Linked DNA regions of Homo sapiens: region 1 is linked to region 2. Evidence: promoter capture Hi-C in 16 types of primary human blood cells and fetal thymus (Javierre and others, 2016). All regions are on one chromosome and are shown on one strand. The core of a region is centred on a gene start or on the middle of the fragment in contact, and the rest is flanking DNA. Distances in the headings are between cores, read along the strand shown.

Region 1 (4,276 bases), core at 1,288-3,787, 380 kb before region 2:
ATTACTTCTCCAAGATTCGTCACTGTTGCATGCATGTAACAGGGCTTGAGTCAGGTTATCAGCTGTATAAGAGTTCATTGCTGGAATAAATCTCATTTTATTTATCTATCCCCTTGTCAGTGGACATTTGGGTTGTTCCTAGCTCTTTACTTCTGTGAACATTCTTGTTTTTGTCTCTTGGTATACATGTGTAAAAATATCTCTAGAACACAGTAAAAAGATTGGTGGTTGCCAGGGGCTTGGAAAGTGGTGGTGAATAGGTGAAGCCCAGGGAATTTTTAGGGCAGTAAAACTATTCTGATATATATATATATACATACACACAACATATATATAAAATATATATATAACATTATATATAATATATAATATATTATTATATATAATATATATAACATTATATATAGTATATATGACATATATAACATATATTATATATAACATATATAAAATATAACATATTATATATAACATATATAAAATATAACATATATTATATATAACATATATAAAATATAACATATATTATATATAACATGTATAAAATATAACATATATTATATATAACATGTATAAAATATAACATATATTATATAACATGTATAAACTATAACATATATTATATATAAAATATATTATATGTTATATATTATAAATAAAATATATTATATGTTATATATTATAACATATTATATAAATAATATATAATATATAACATATATTATATAAATAATATATAACATATATTATATAAATAATATATAACATAACATATATTATATAACATATAACATATAACATATATTATATATAACATATAACATATAACATATATTATATATAACATATAACATATAACATATATTATATATAACATATAACATATATTATATTATATATAACATATAACATATATTATATTATATATAACATATAACATATATTATATTATATATAACATATAACATATATTATATTATATATAACATATAACATATATTATATTATATATAATATATAACATATATATTATATATAATATATAACATATAACATATATTATATATAATATAATATATAACATATATTATATATAATATAATATATAACATATATTATATATAATATAATATATAACATATATTATATATAATATAATATATAACATATATTATATATAATATAATATATAACATATATTATATATAATATAATATATAACATATATTATATATAATATAATATATAACATATATTATATATAATATAATATATAACATATATAATATATAACATATAGCATATATAATATATAACATATAACATATATTATATATAACATATAACATATATTATATATAACATATAACATATATAATATGTAACATTATATATAACATATATAATATGTAACATTATATATAACATATATAATATGTAACATTATATATAACATATGTTATATATTTCAGCCTCAAGGAAGAGGATACATCCCTACCCACTAAGTGTGGGCTGGGCTGTGCATGATGCGTTTGTTCCCTCCACGGAGTATAGGGGAAAGAGTCACTTTACAGTGTCAAAATCTGACACATACTACCTCAGCTGGGTGATCAAGGTCAGTAGCAACAGTGATAAATCATGTTAGTACATGTCTTTCATATAATGATAAAAATGGCATTTTACCTCAGTGGTCTTCCTCCCCAAAGTCCATAACCCCAGTCTAATCATGAGAAACACATCAAATAGATTCCACAGAGAGACATTCTACAAAACACCTGACCAGTACTGCTCAACTGTCAGGGTCATCAGAAACAGGGGAAGTTTGAGAAACTCTCACAGCCAAGAGAAGCTTAAGGAAATATGTCAAGTAAATGGATGGGATCTTGGAGCAGAAGACTTTAGATAAAAGCTAAGAAAATGTGAATGAACTATGGACTTTAGTTAATCATGTAGCAATATGTAACAAGGGTACCATGCTAAGGTCAATGACAGAGAAAACTGGGTGAGAGAGTCTATGGGAATTCTCTACTGTCTTCTCAATTTCCCTATGAGTTTAAAACTGTTCTAAAAATAAAGCCTGTTAAAATGGTATGGGTTCTAGAAAGTTATAGGTAAAAAGAAAATGATACCTTAAAACTGTCTCTAGATCAGGGTTGGCAAACTTTGTTTGCAAAATATCAGCTAGTAAATATTGTAGGCTTTGAAGCCTTAAGGTGTCTGTTGCGACTACTCAACTCTGCTGTTGTGTGTTACAAGAGCAGCCATATCTTAACAAGTAAGTGTGGCTGACTTCCAATAAAACTTTATTTAGCAAAAACAAAGTCCACAGGCCTCAGTTTGCAAACCCCTGCTCTCATGTATATAAATGAAGTCAAAGTGCTAGGTCACAAATTTCCATCACATTGTGGTGGAAAGCATCAAGTTGTATTGCATCAAATACACATTCATCAGAAACAGCAGAAATGGATTAACATTGAAGTCCATGTCTTGCCCAGAACTTAGCGTTTTTACTACAATTGTGTCTCACTGGGTTATTTTTTACTTCCTTCTTCTGAGAAATGCCTATTTGCAGCTTTTGCTCATTTTCTGCTGGGCTGTCCTTTTTTCTAATGCATTGGCAGGAGTTCTTTATGTATTCTGGATAGTAATCTACCAGCTACAGATGTTGCGTATATTTTCTCCTGGTCTATGGCCTGCCTTTCACTTTTCTTTTGGTGTCTTTTGATGAACAGAGTTAATTTTAATGTCGTCTGGTTTATTAATGTTTCCTTATTGTAGTTAGTGCTTTTTCTCTCTTGTGTTTAAGAAATCATCTCAAACTCAAAGTCAGAAAGATACTCTTCTATATTTTCTTTGAACAGTTTTGAAGTCTTGCCTTTCACCTGTAAATCCTCCGTGTACCTGAGATTTACTGAAAAGTACAGAATATATGGAGGAGGAAGGGATTCGATGTTATGTTTTTCTACGTGGATGCCCAGTAGTCCCATCCCTGTTGCCTCCTCCCATGTTGGTCTGGAGTGCCATCTGCCATGTCACTGAGAGGATTACATTATATAATGCAGGAAATGTGCTTGGCCTAGCCCCCAGCTTCAATTTAGTGAGACTGTGACTCTGAATTCCCCTTCCTTTCCAGGCTCTAGGGGAGCTGGGGCTCACAATCTTCTGCTTTCAATAATGCTTTTCCTAAACATGAAGACCATAATGTAACGAGGGCTTCTGGCTACAGCAAGCTTGCACATCCACCAGTGAACCAGGGTAACAGGACAGCAGCAGAAGGGGTCCTCACCCTCTGAGCACTGCAAAATGAACAGCTCGGCACTCCTCCTGCAGCTCAAACATTTGCTAAAGCACTTTTAAACAGGTCCTCAGTCAAGGACACTGGGAGATGGCAATTAAGTCTTCTTGAGACTCCAGGGGCCCTGGTGGCAGTGGCTGGGAAATCTGACCTGGTGAACAGATAAGAAATGCTTATAATTAGCACATTCAATGTGAAATACATGTGATTGCACAGATTGTAATTTTCCAAACTGTCAAGACAATTCTCCAACAACTCTTCACTCATAAGGAGGCTCAGCATGGCCATTGTATATGCTACTAATTTCCTTGTTTTCATAGAGAGCAGATAGAAACCCCAACTCACCTTGTCTATATGTCCGTCAAATCTAAATTCAAGGAATTGAAATGAATACGGACTTAATCTTACAGATATGTCTTAGATCATTTTCTTATTGAGGTAAAACTTACATTCAATAAAATTTTACAGATCTGAAGTGTCCAGCTTATGAAACTTTTCCGTATATGTACACCTGTATTATTGCCACCTAGATCTGCATATTTAACATTTCCAGCCTCCAGAAAGCTCTCTCATGCCCTTCCTGGTCATGTCTCCCTGCAGAGGTAGCCATTAGTCTGATTTCCATCATGCAGATTAGTTTTGCTTGTATCTGAAGTTCCCGTAAATGGAAGCTTTATCATGTGTACTCTTTTGCATATGGCTTCTTTAGCTCAACATTCTGCCTGAGATTCATCTGGGAGCTTTATGTAGCTAGAGTTTGCTTTTTCAATAGTAAAATGATGAATATGTGATGACACATTGTATGATCCGCCACAATTCATTTTACTATTGATGGACATTTTGGTTGTTTCCAGGTTGGGGCCATTATAAATAAGGCTGCTATGAACTTCAGTGAATATGTGTTTTGGTGCACATGTGTGCTCCTGTATGTTGAGTATAAACCTAGGAGCTGAATCTCTAGATTATGATAGGCATTGGATT
Region 2 (4,245 bases), core at 86-2,585:
GCCATGGGCTTCATGCCCGTGGACATGGGATCCCTGGCGTCAGCCTGGGAGGTGGAGGCCATGCCCCTGCGCCTCCTCCCGGCCTGGAAGGTGCCCACCCTGCTGGCCCTGGGGCTCTTCGTCTGCTTCTATGCCTACAACTTCGTCCGGGACGTTCTGCAGCCCTATGTGCAGGAAAGCCAGAACAAGTTCTTCAAGCTGCCCGTGTCCGTGGTCAACACCACACTGCCGTGCGTGGCCTACGTGCTGCTGTCACTCGTGTACTTGCCCGGCGTGCTGGCGGCTGCCCTGCAGCTGCGGCGCGGCACCAAGTACCAGCGCTTCCCCGACTGGCTGGACCACTGGCTACAGCACCGCAAGCAGATCGGGCTGCTCAGCTTCTTCTGCGCCGCCCTGCACGCCCTCTACAGCTTCTGCTTGCCGCTGCGCCGCGCCCACCGCTACGACCTGGTCAACCTGGCAGTCAAGCAGGTACCCACCCCATGCCCTTCCTCCCTCTGGCAACTCAGCACATGCTTGTCCAGCACCTCCCCCCCCCACCAACCAGGTGCAGCCGATACCCACGGGTGCAGCCTTACCAGGTGCCAACTGCAGATTCTGTTCCAATGGGGCAGCACCCACATCCTCCTGCCCAAGATTTTGAGTATCAGTGAACAAAGCAGATGAAAATTCCTGCCCCCATGGGTACAGCCCAGTTGGGGCAGACTTAAACAAAATACAGCAGTGAGTCATAGTGGGCGTTGAGAGGATCAGGAGTGCTAAGGCGCAAAGGAAAGCAAGCGTGGGCGGTGGGGGTGCAGGTTTGAAGATGGTCCAGGAGGACTTGCAGAGTGAGTGCTATGTGAGCAGAGCTGGAAGGAGGGGAGAGGGGCCGGTGGCCTGCTGGGGTGATGTTGCAGGCCACGGGGCATAGTCCTTGGGCAGAAGTGTGCCTGGTACGTTGGAGGAGCAGCCAGGAGGCCCATGTGGCTAAAGCTGAACAAGGAGGGGGTGGCAGGCGAGGCCTGAGAGGAAGAGCTTCAGCCTTAGGCTCCGAGTGAAATAGGGAGCTGGTGAAGGTTTGAATTTAGGTGTTGATCGGCCTGACATTTTAAGTGGTTCTCTCTGGTTTTTGGCTGAGAACAGACTGTAGGAGGTCAAAGGCAGCTAGCTGCTGGGGCCAGCGAGGAAGCCGTGCATATGCCCAGATTTGAGGCAGTGGAGGCTGGAGGCAGTGGGAGCAGTGGAGGAGCAAGGAGATCCTGAAGGCACATGTGAAGCTGGAGTGCATGGAATTGCCGCTGGAATGGCCCCAGGGTTTTGTGGGTGATCAGGGATGACTCTGGGGTTTGGGTCTGAGCACCTGAAAGAGAGAGTTGCCATCAGCTGAGATGGGGAAGGCTGCAGGAGTGAGCATTCCAGGTTTAGGTTTGTTGTTGTTGTTGTTGTTCTTTGTTTGTTTTACTGGGGGTGGCACTAATCATTCATTTAGAAAATTCATATGGGGCTTGGTTGCCAGCAGGGTTCCTGGGAAGTGGAGGACCTTCAGGCCACACCAGGTGGGGACCCAGGCATCAGCTGGCACCTGTGCCCACAGAAACAGGCCCCTGATGCTCCCTCCTGGTCCACAAGCTCATGGGGCTTGATTCTTAGTCCCAAGCTCACATCTTCAGCAACACTGTCTTTATTTTCTCCAAATTAATTCCACCTCCAGTGCCCAGCCCCGGGGCTGGTTGATGCATAGGTCCTGCCCACTCCAGGACGCTAGTCACCCAACAGGGTTCAGCCCAGGTGCTGGTGAGACACTTCTCATCCACCCCTCATTCCAGCCTGGCAGCCCCTGCAGCTCCTGCTCCTGCTCAGAATGCAGGGACCTTGGTGAGGCTGGGCCCTCCCCTAAACACCTAGCACAGGGCCATCCCCTCCGAGCATGGGGGATTGGCAGGACTGGGAAGCAGGGCTGGGCACCTCCTGAGAACCACAGACCTCAGCCCCTACTCACTGTCAGGGTTGCTGCTTCTCTGCCAGCAGCTACTCGACTGCCCTCGTCCTTTGCCACCCACAGATACCGGCATCATTGCATCTGTGGGCTCAGAATTTCCTAAGACAAAGGAAGAACCCCAGACTTCAGGCAGAAAAGCAAGATGCTTGATGGAAATGAGAGGAAGGGAAGAAATCAGTCATGAACCCTTAACAAGAGCTCGCTGTGTTCCAGGAACCATTCTAAGAGCTTCGTACACCACTGTGAATTCATTTAACCCCATCTCATCCCTGTAGGCCAGGTGCTATTATATCCTTATTTCATAGATGAGAAATCTGAGGCACAGAGGGGTCAAGTAACTTGGCCAAAGTCACACAGTCAGTAAGTAGCACAGCTGGGATTCAGATCCAGCTATTTTCCAGATCCATGCTTATACCCACGCTGCTTTCTACAGGCAAACCAAATTCACAATTGAGTAAATGATTTCAGAACTAGGTCATTCATTCACTCATTCACTGAGCACCTACTCTGCCAGGCCCTGGGGCCACAGAAAGGAGTAAGAAAGACACAGACCATCTGGCTCCTCGCCTCAGCTGGTGTGGGGCGGTGTGGAGGCCTGAAGGCTAGAGGCTGGACTCCTGCTCTCCAGCATCGCTGACTGGAACAAAGATCTTGACCTTGAGCAAGTCACAGCCCCTCTTTTGTCCTCGAGGCCCTGATGTGTAGATCAAGCTCTCTCCTAGTGCTAATGTTTTCAATGCTCTTTGACGATATTTTCTTACTGACTTCTACAAAGCACCAGCCCCTTGGCAGGAGGCTCTGCGGGGCTCCCTGGGGACTAGTACAATGTTGCTGCCCAGGACGGGGCAGATCTGCATGGAGGAGCCCACTCCCTCTCCCCTGAGCTGGCAGGTATTTCCAGCAGCAGTGGGAAAGACGGGGACGGTGCCCACTACCCCCCAGGGTAAAAGACACACCACTGCTCCCTCCCTCCCCTGCCACCCTTCAACTGCCTTTGTCTAAATTCTCTGCCCTGCCAAGGCTCTCCCTGATATTCTGTTAACCCAATTCTGCCCTGATGCAAATACCAGGGCACAGAGGGGCGCATGCAAGGTAATTTTCCCCGTGTCCCAAAAATCTTTAGGGCTGCAGGCCCTGGTGAGGTTGCCAGGCAACCATCCCTCCCGCAGGACGAGATCAGTCAGAGACACCGAAGGCCTCTCATGCAAAGGGGCTTAAACTTGTTCTGCAGAGTTCTTAAGGGCAAAACCAGGGCTGATGTGGTTATGTCGGGGTGGGTGGTCGGAGGGAGGCAGGGGCTTGACACACAGCAGCCCAGATACGGGGAGGTGCCCAAGCCTGGGCACATCCAAGCAGATTCTGGATGGTCCATGGTAAGCCATGCCCGCGGTTCTGGGCCTGGGCACCTGAGGCTGTTCTGCCTTCAGCCCCAAACAGCAGGGACTCCTGGGTGGCTCAGGCTTGATGTGTGGCTTCTGCTGCCAGCCCATGGGCACCTCACCACAGGGTCCCCACATGGCCACTCACCACCCCAACTGCCCACTAGGCCCTTGGGTCAAGGGAGCACATTAGTCTAGGCACAAGAAACTCCTCCAAGATTTCCTTACAGCCCTGAGTCTGCAGATTAGGAGGCAAAGGTGTATGCCAGCTGTAGAGAAAACCTTTGAGACCATGTTTACAGACAGTATTATTACCAACAATAACCGATATTTGTACAGGGCATTTGGATTTGCTTGTGTATTTCCCTGGAAATACACATTTCAACATCAAACTCAAAGATCAAGATCAAAGAAATGTTTAACCTGCACACTGTTCTCCTGTTACCTTCACCCCGTTCTCCTATTACCTTCACCCCAAGCTACATCTGCACATGGCTGGCACAGGATGGTCTGAAACTCTCATCTGACCATGTCACTGCTGAAAAGATCCAGTGACCCCAGTGTCCTTGGGATAATGGTAGAACCCTCACTATGCAGCTAGACTCCCTCCGCAGCCTCATCTCCCCTTCTCCTGTGACGTGTCAACACTTGGGTCCCATACTGTCCTCTAAATGGGCAGAGCTCATTCCTCTCGGCTTGGAACGCCCACCCCAGGACACCTTGACAGCTTGCAAACTCCTATTCCTCCTTCAAAACCCTACCTCTGTTAAGCTCCCCCAGACTATCCCCTTACTTCCCCATACCTGCCTCTGTAATCTGTTGCATTTTGTAAATACTTTTTTATTATTTTTCTTACACACTACTTCATACCCGACTCAGAGGTCC

What was found. Contacts are between HindIII fragments. The CHiCAGO score rates a contact against its expected background, and 5 or more counts as called.
Region 1: a fragment that was not itself captured here is called in contact with the fragment with the promoter of STEAP3-AS1 in region 2 in 1 of 17 cell types (monocytes); the score reaches 5.2 in monocytes.

The regions. Positions count from the first base shown.
Region 1 is chr2:118,866,754-118,871,029 of GRCh38, forward strand. No RefSeq gene overlaps it. Among named protein-coding and RNA genes, the nearest start is that of EN1, 21 kb to the left of the region's middle. The HindIII fragment of the contact is 1,381 bases long and covers 1,848-3,228 here.
Region 2 is chr2:119,247,736-119,251,980 of GRCh38, forward strand. STEAP3-AS1 (STEAP3 antisense RNA 1) reads right to left here and starts at 1,336. Exons shown (of 2, transcript NR_046721.1): 1 at 579-1,336. It overlaps STEAP3 (STEAP3 metalloreductase), which reads left to right. Exons shown (of 6, transcript NM_182915.3): 4 at 1-471. The HindIII fragment of the contact is 11,024 bases long and covers 1-4,245 here.